Regions from separate parts of the Homo sapiens genome. Here region 2 is linked to region 1. The links are contacts of gene promoters, found by promoter capture Hi-C in blood cells and fetal thymus (Javierre and others, 2016). All regions are on one chromosome and are shown on one strand. The core of a region is centred on a gene start or on the middle of the fragment in contact, and the rest is flanking DNA. Distances in the headings are between cores, read along the strand shown.

The links. Contacts are between HindIII fragments. The CHiCAGO score rates a contact against its expected background, and 5 or more counts as called.
Region 2: a fragment that was not itself captured here is called in contact with the fragment with the promoter of NIPAL4 in region 1 in 1 of 17 cell types (total B cells); the score reaches 6.4 in total B cells.

What each region holds. Positions count from the first base shown.
Region 1 is chr5:157,457,375-157,461,711 of GRCh38, reverse strand. NIPAL4 (NIPA like domain containing 4) reads right to left here and starts at 1,499. Exons shown (of 6, transcript NM_001099287.2): 1 at 1,355-1,499. The coding sequence starts at 1,391. NIPAL4-DT (NIPAL4 divergent transcript) reads left to right here and starts at 1,612. Exons shown (of 3, transcript NR_136205.1): 1 at 1,612-1,704. RefSeq lists a silencer at 1,446-1,605. The HindIII fragment of the contact is 3,531 bases long and covers 563-4,093 here.
Region 2 is chr5:157,749,750-157,754,062 of GRCh38, reverse strand. It overlaps LSM11 (LSM11, U7 small nuclear RNA associated), which reads right to left. Exons shown (of 4, transcript NM_173491.4): 2 at 2,534-2,673; 3 at 1-59. Among named protein-coding and RNA genes, the nearest start is that of LSM11, 8.2 kb to the right of the region's middle. The HindIII fragment of the contact is 2,157 bases long and covers 1,346-3,502 here.

The DNA.
Region 1 (4,337 bases), core at 250-2,749:
ATCTCTCTTTCCAAAACTCGTGTCACAATCAAGGGAAGATGAGACAAGAGGCATCTCAGTCCCTAATCAGACTTGTTCTGCACTGCTCATTCCTGTTTCTCCAGCTCAGGCTTCCTTGCCCAAGAGCTGAATCTGGGGAGTTCCCTGAGCCCAGGAAATGAGCCAGAACCTGGGAGAACATGGGCTAGGGGAGGTGACTCCTGAGAGGAAGACCAAACTCATCCCCACGCCCTTCCCCTGCTCCCTGAAGGTGCACCTCTAGCAGATGGAGCCAACGAACCCTCTGTGGATGGACTTGGCTGTCACAGTAAAGCCCGCAACACCCAAGGGCTGAGCATCCTCCATTGAGTCAAGTTCTCCCACTGCAGTGAAAAGTAAAAGACAGAGGGCTGATGGCCAAAGTAATCCAATTCTGAGCATGGGCCAGATGATTCCTGTTATCTCTTCCAGAATATGCTAGGACTGGGGAACACATTCTGGCCTAGAGAAAAGGTGAGGCTGAAAATGCCTGCCTTGTTCAGGAAACCAAAGTCAGACACCTAACAGGCTGGCTTTGAAAGCTTCACTGTAGAAGGGAAGAGGTTAGAGAAACAGGGACATGCCACAGCCTGCAGTTCCAAGACAAGGTAGGAAAGTGGAGCCACACCAAGGAAGGAGTTGAGGTTTTACTGTCCACCAGCCTTGGATCTATATTCCATTTCCTCACTGTATTACCTTGAGCAAATTATTAGCTGCTCAGAGCCTCAGTTTCTGGATCTTTAGAGTGGGGATAGCAAGATAGTAAAATAATAATACCTACCTACCTTCTAGAGTTGTTTTAAGGATTCAGTGAGATAATGCGGGTAAAGGGCCTAGTCCACTACCTGCTTTATGGTCAGAACGCAATAGGAAGTCAGGGGTCTTTCTTTACCCCTTCCTGTGGTTCTTTTTCTTTTCCAAAGACAAGACCGTCCTGTGATGGTCCTCCCATTGACCCAGAGAGAAAGCCCAAACTGCGCAGGTACTAAAACCTGAAGCAACTACACATTAAAAACACAGAATCCTCCCCCCGCCCCCACCACCTCTCAGGGTGTCTGCTGTCGTCAAAATGCCTGCCCCCCACTAACCCCCCATCTCAACCCAGGGGACATACTTTCCTTCCCTGACTCCTCTCAGCCATCCCAGCTGCGAAGATGAAAGTGAAGTCTCAGCCAGAACCCAGATCTTCAAAGCTGGGTGGGAGCCACCTCGTGCTGGCCCTGCCCCTCCCCAGCTTTGGCCCCCCTGGGAGGAGAGGATGCGAGGGAGAGCGGTGGCAAGGAGGGGAGGGCGCGAAGCGCGGAGCCCGCCTGGTCCCCAGCCCTGCCGTACGCACCGTTCTCGCAGCTGGTGTTGCTGACCCGCAGCTCCATGGGGCCCGGGGCACACGAACCGACGCGCGGGCGGACGGCGCCCGGGCTCCCCAGCTCCGGAGCAGGTGGCCGCGACTTGTCCCCCGCGTGGCTCGCGCGCGAGAAGCCGCCGGGGTCCGGACCCAGGGGTGGGGAGAGTGACGCGTCCCAGAGTGGGAGAGTCCCCGGGGAGGAGTCACCCGGCATCTTGGGCAATTCCGGGGGCAGGGGGCCCAGGGCTGGGGCCGCCCGCAGAGGGGCGCATGCCTTCCTGGGGTGAGGACGCTGCCAGGCTCCCAGCTCTGGAGTCACCGCCCCGTGCTAGGGGCAAGAGGTGAGGAGGCGGGTTCCCCGGCACCGCTCCTCCGATGCCTGCACCGGCACCCAGCTCCATCCCCAGGGAAAGAGTACAGGGGACCTAGATGGCTGGAGAAGGGGCAACTTTCCTGCCGAGGTGGAAGTGGCAACATAGGGGTTGGAAGTGGGTACTGCTGCCAATTGGGAACCTGGGTTCCTTCTTTTCCTTCCTTCTCGCCCTCCTACCCTCCCCCTCTCCTTCCTCCCCTCCACCTTTCCTCCCTTCCTTCCATTTCACCCTCCTGCCCTTCCTCCCTGCCTTCTGCCCTGCGACCTCCTTTCCTTGCCTTACCCGTTCATTGATTCAACCCAGGTCTGATCTGTGCTGGTAGGTAACAGGTACATAGTGAGTTAATGCTCAATATATATTTATGTCTAATGAATAGATAATAGGAGCTTGGTAAATTAAATGAAAGAAGGAAATGAAGTGATTGGAGACCAAAATGAGTCAGACTATTCCCTGTCCCCCAAGTACCTTATATTTTAATGGGGGAAACAAAATGTGATCATCTCTTAGAGACCAATGTTTTTGAAATTACCACTTTAAAATTATTTATACACACACACACATACACACGTTGTGATGGAAAGCATATTTGTTACTATGGGTAACAGTAAAAAGCAAGTTAGAAAACCACTGACCTGGAGCATAAAAATAGGTATGTAGAGTTTGCTATAGGCCAGGCAGAGTTCTAAGTGCTGAAAAATTCCAGTTCATTTAATCTTCATGACCGCCTTATAATGTACAGACTTTTATTATTTACCAAAAGGAAACTGAGGCACAAAGTGCTCAAGTAACTTGCTGGGGATCTCAGCTGAGAAGCAGAAAAGCCAGGATCAAACTCGTGCTGTCAGTGGTCACATTAAGCCGCCTGGCATTTTACACTGAAATAAACTGCTCCTGGGCAGTGAGGGTGTGGGGCTACTGAGAAAGCAGTGATTGGTTCTGCCAGTGGTGCTCACCGGCTTCCTGGAGGAGGCAGCTTTTAAGAATTGTTATGTATGGAGTCGTCAGCATGGGCCAGACACTGTGCTAACCCCTTTCCAGGCACTGTCTCATCGAAGCCTCCTAGGAGACAGATATCCTTACTCTTTCCATGCTACAGATAAGAGGAAACTGTTATTTTTAAAAATTTTATCATGAGATAATTTTAGACTTATAGAAGAGTTACGAAAATAGTATAGAGAGTTCCCATATACCTGTCACCAGCTTCCCTTAATGTTAACATCTTGTATAGGAATAGAAAAAACTGTCCTTTAAATACTCTGAGACACTTGCTCCCAAGGTTGCACAGCTAGTGAACGAGGGTGCCAGGTGTAAACCGAGCTGCTCTGACCCCAAGCCTGTCCTCCTACCTACGACCCTCCACTGTCTACTTGCGGACCTCTAGCTGGGCCTCTAAGGATGGGTTCTCCCAGCATGGGGCTTCCTCTAATTTGCTGGATGACTTTAAACAAGTTGCTTACTCTACATAAGGATCAATTTCTTTGTCAAATGCAACAGCCCCTTCTCCAAGGGGTCGGGATCGGGTTGGGGAAGGGAGAGGTTAAAAGAGAAAGGGAAATGTGAGACACAGCAAATGTAACAAGCCACGTTTGCTCATTTTACTTGCTGCATAATTTCACAAGCCCTTGATTCTGTAATGATGTGCACCTCTCTGGAAAAATGCTTTGAAAACAAAGCAGGATACAGCACAAGGCCCCCACAACTTTTGCCTGAGACACTATATTTCTTAAAAGATAAATGACCCTAGACCTTGCCTATTCCTACACATAGGATAATGTTTGACAAGGTTAGTGACTATGCCTCTATCATCTATAACCAGATATACTCTTGCACCCAGACTTTCATGTGATTCTGCTTTACTGTAACTTCTGAGCAAGTTTGATGTAATGTTTGAGCACATACTGCACTTCTGCTACGTGTATATCAGCTATGAGCTAAAACACTGTTTCAGAGCAGTGGGACAGGACCTCTCTGAAAGACTCCTCCCAGACTTTGTCTTCAGTCTCTAGTCCTCAGTAAGACTTCTGCTTTTTTTTTTTTTTTTTTTTTTGAGACAGAGTCTCACTCTGTTGCCCAGGCTGGAGTGCAGTGGCTCGACCTCGGCTCACTGCAAGCTCCGCCTCCCATGTTCAAGCGATTCTCCCACCTCAGCTTCCGGAGTAGCTGGGATTACAGGCGCCCACCACCACGCCCAGCTAATTTTTGTATTTTTAGTAGAGACAGTGTTTCACCATGTTAGCCAGGCTGATCTCAAACTCCTGACTTCAGGTGTTCCACCTGCCCCGGCCTCCCAAAATGCTGGGATTACAGAACCTCAGTAAGACTTCTGAATAAAACTAACTTTAATTCCTTAAAAGCTTGATTTTCTTTTAGTTGACAGAAGTCATAGCCATTGCCAACAGAATATATCCAAGTCTGCAGGTGAGTGTGCCCAGGCCCGCCTCTAACTTTGGAGGTGTGTGGTACCACCGTTCAGGTAGAGGGGAACACCTCCAAGACTATATGAATTTGAACACAGAGCAGCAAGACACTAGATGATTGGCCCTATTCGGAAGTGAGACTTCATGATGAAAAAATATATGCATCCATGCTACCTGCAAGGG
Region 2 (4,313 bases), core at 1,175-3,674, 290 kb before region 1:
CGTTCATATGCTTTGCCTAGGACAGGTTTTCGGTAGGTCTCATCCACATCAGTAAGTGCCTAGAGGAACAGCCCAAAAGGAAAAACATTAGACAGAATTAAAATTATTATTTGTATAGCTTTTTCAGGGAAAAAAAAAAAGGCAGAGTAACATCTATTCAGAGCAGAACTACACTTAACAGATGACTCAGCTCCTAGGCAGAAGAAAATGGTGACACCTGGTACCTTCTGTGTAATATTTTTAAGCTGCTATCACCATATAAGATGGGTTTCACCTATGGATGGTAAGGGCCTTTATGACTGCATGGTAGAAGGTCTTAAATTTCAGTGTGCAAGAATATCTAGGAGGTTTATTAAAATACGAACCCAAAGCTATTCTGCTGGAGATTCTGTTTTGGTAGGTCTGGGATGAAGCCCAGGAACCTTTTGTTTCAACCAGAAGCCCCAGGTGATTCTGATGCAGGATGGCTTTAGATCCCACTTTGAGGAACATTACTGCTTCTTTACCCGCTTCAGTTTCTATGTCTTATGAAAGCAATTAACAGAGATTAACCAGGGTTACACACAGAATTGCTGGTGAGTTCTCATCACCGAGAGCAACCTCGACAGGACAGCTGTTAGGACCAAATGAGAAGTACAAGACAAATTCCTTTGAAAAGTGTAAATCACCCTACAAATAGAAGCTGACAGTACTGTTATAATCACCACTATCATCTAACACATTCTCTTCAATTCTTCAAAGGTAAAAAGATCATAATAAAACATTTTTCCCTGCATTTTGGAAATGAGAAAACTGAGGCTCAGAGAAATTATCTTGCTTACAGTCACACAGTTACCAAGTGATGATGCTAGGATTCAAATTCCCTAATGGTTAAAAACATGGTTTTAGGAGTTAGGCCGAGGAAAAAGTTTGGCACTTCCACTTACTAACAGTGTGATCTGCGACCAACATTCCAATCTCTCTAGAATCAATTTCTTCATTTGTGAAATGGAACAGTAATAGTACCCACAACTCATTCATTGAGATAATATATGAAGCCCTCAGTATAGTACCTGGCACATAGCAGGTACTCAATATATGTTAGCAGCTACTGTTCTTATCCAGGAGGATGCGTGGATGGGGATAAAGCACAGGGAAAAGGAAAGTTGGAGATAGAAGACCATATGGAAAAGAAACACCAGAAAGCTCTGGTGGTTCTTTTTTTTTTTTTTTTTTTTTTGACAGAGTCTCGCTCTGCCACCCAGGCTGGAGTGCAGTGGCATGATCTCGGCTCACTGCAACCTCCGCCTCCCAGCTTCAAGTGATTCTCCTCCCTCAGCCTCCTGAGTAGCTGGGATTACAAGCTTGTGCCACCATGTCTGGCTAATTTTGTATTTTTAGTAGAGATGGGGGTTTCCCTATGTTGGCCAGGCTGGTCTTGAACTCCTGGCCTCAGGCGATCCGCCTGCCTCGGCCTTCCAAAGTGCTGGGATTACAGGTGTGAACCACCGCGTGCAGCCTAGTAGTTCTTAACTACCTCAAATTATAGTTGTGCTATTACATATCCCTTCTCTCCTACAAATGTCTAGAAAAAAAGTAAGCCTCTAGAAGGCTAGGAAGTGTGGCACACTCCCTCATTATAAAACCACCATGTGGCCGGGCGCAGTGGCTCATGCCTGTAATCCCAGCACTTTGGGAGGCTGAGGCAGGCGGATTACCTGAGGTCTGGAGTTCAAGACCAGCCTGGCCAACATGGTGAAACCCTGTCTCTACTAAAAATACAAAAATCAGCTGGGCATGGTGGCAGGGGCCTGTAATCCCAGCTACTCAGGAGGCGGAGGTTGCAGTGAGCTGAGATTGTGCCACTGCACTCCAGCCTGGGTGACAAGAGCAAAACACTGTCTCAAAAAAAAAAAAAAAAGACATCATGCAAAATGCTTTGTTTACTGATGTCTGCTTCACCTCTATCCTTATTTACCTTCCCATGTACTGTAAAGTGCAAGTTCCTTTCTGAAACTTTTGCACCTAGCATGGGGTTCAGCCAAAATGGGAAGTCAATAAATGTTTTTCTTAATTAATGAAAGAATGGTTGGTAGAAAATCAACTAAAAATTACTAAACCGATAAAATAATTGGTCCTTAAGGCTGGGTTTCTCAACCCTGGCACTAAGGACTTTTCAGATTGGATAATTCTTTGTTGTTGAGGGACTATCTTGTGTGTTGTAGACTGTTTAGCTGCAACCCTGGCCTCTACCAATTAGATGCCAGTAGTACCCTCTCCTATAGTGGTGACAATAAAATGTCCCCAGACATTGATGAATGTTCCTGGGAGTGAAGGAAGAACAAAATTACCTTGGTTAAGAGCCACTGCCTTAAGGAGAAGGAAGCAATAAAAAGACCTTTTCTTGTTGTTGCCCAAAAGTATGCAAAAATTCTAGTTCTTCTAAGAAGTTATTTTTTGGGTTTTACTTAATGCAGTTACTCAGGTCCTTTAAATATTATAGAAGATATAATCTGTAGGAGGTTCTCCAGCCCCTTGAGAAAGGCTTAATTACCATATTCCAGAACTTGTCGAATGCAACAAGGAAGCCTGTACAGACGCCCCGAAGTCCCTTGAAAGTGCGGATGTGAACATTCACCTTCACCCCCTCACGGATACAGCGATGGAGTTCACCCAGAGGGCTGCCTTCGTGCACTGAAACAAGAGAAGAACAGTCAGGACAGTTTTAATATCTGCCCTCATTCCCAGAATTAAGCCACGACCACCCAACTTCGGCCAGCAACATGTGGCCCATGGTAGAGTGACAATCTCACTATTGGAACAGGAAGGTCCAATGGGCAACATGGCTCGTACGGCCAACACACACTGACACAAGACTAGATTCCAACAGAATGTGGATCATCCATATGTATGAATATCAGCCAAATGTTTCACTACCGGTATATCTCTTATTCCACGATGTCACTGATTTTAACATGCACTATCACTTAACTTTTGGGGTTGGCCGGGCGTGGTGGCTCACGTCTGTAATCCCAGCACTTTGGGATGCTGAGGTGGGCGGATCACCTGAGGTCAGGAGTTTGAGATCAGCCTGGCCAACATGGTGAAACCCCATCTCCACTAAAAATACAAAAATTAGCCAGGCATGGTGGCCCATGCCTGTAATCTCAGCTACTCAGGAGGCTGAGGCAGGAGAATGGCTTGAACCCAGGAGGTGGAAGTTGCAGTGAGCCGAGATCGCACCATTGCACTCCAGCCTGGGCAACAGAGCAAGACTCCATCTTGAGAAACACACACACACACGGGCACGCAAACATTAAATGTATACATTAACAGCGAGATCCTTCTCAATTCTGTGCCTTAAGACAATTCATGAATCACATATCCAGCTTGAGTCTTCCAAAAAAACAAAAACCTTGTTTACATGTTCAAAGGAAACAAACTGCACTCTGCCCTTAAACATGTACAATCCTGTCAGAAAGAAAGGCCTTTGACCCCACCAAAGCTACTCCATGCACAAGCTTTCTGGACTCACTGGTGTTTCTGGGAGGAAAAGCACTGGTTCTGGCCCAAGCCCTGACAGTGTAAAAGGCACCTGGCTGAGTATCTGGCTCCTATGACACTACTAATAAGCATCATGTGAAGAGAGCAGGATAATGACTCATAGGAAGAATATTGAGACTATAAATTTCAGCTTTTATTATGAAGGATTCTCAGAGCGTGGGAGGAAAGATGAATTTTATTTTTATTATTTCATGTTAACTCAGCTCTCACAATATGCTGGCTATGGTATATAAAACCTCCCAAAAGAAAGCCGTACACATTCTTTTTTCCTGAGACAGGGTCTCACTGTCACCCAGGCTGGAGTGCAGTGGCACAATCACAGCTCACTCCAGCCTTGACCTCCCTGGCTCAAGCGATCCCCCTAGCTCAACCCACTGAGTAGCTGGGACTACAGGCACGCACTACGCACCCCCAATCTCTCTCTCTTTCTCGTGCGTACACAGTCTCACTCTTTCCCAAGTTTGCAACGCAAAATTCTGTAGAAAGTTTATTTTTGGTCAGGTCTTAGAAGTCTGGATATATAGAGTATTTGGCATTGACAGTAGACAAATGAAAAATCTCTCCTGCTTTGTTTCTAGTGACATAAAGGAGAACAACAGTCCTGCACTTCAGTTTGGATAACTAAATTGGTTCCTCCTGAAGCCACCTTATCCCTCTGTCATGGATTGGCTTATAAATGATGGCTGTGATAAATTAATAAAAGATTCTTAGAAGAAAATGACTTAGCAGACTAGCAGGAGTTTATGTCAGATTAACGGTGTGAGAATAAC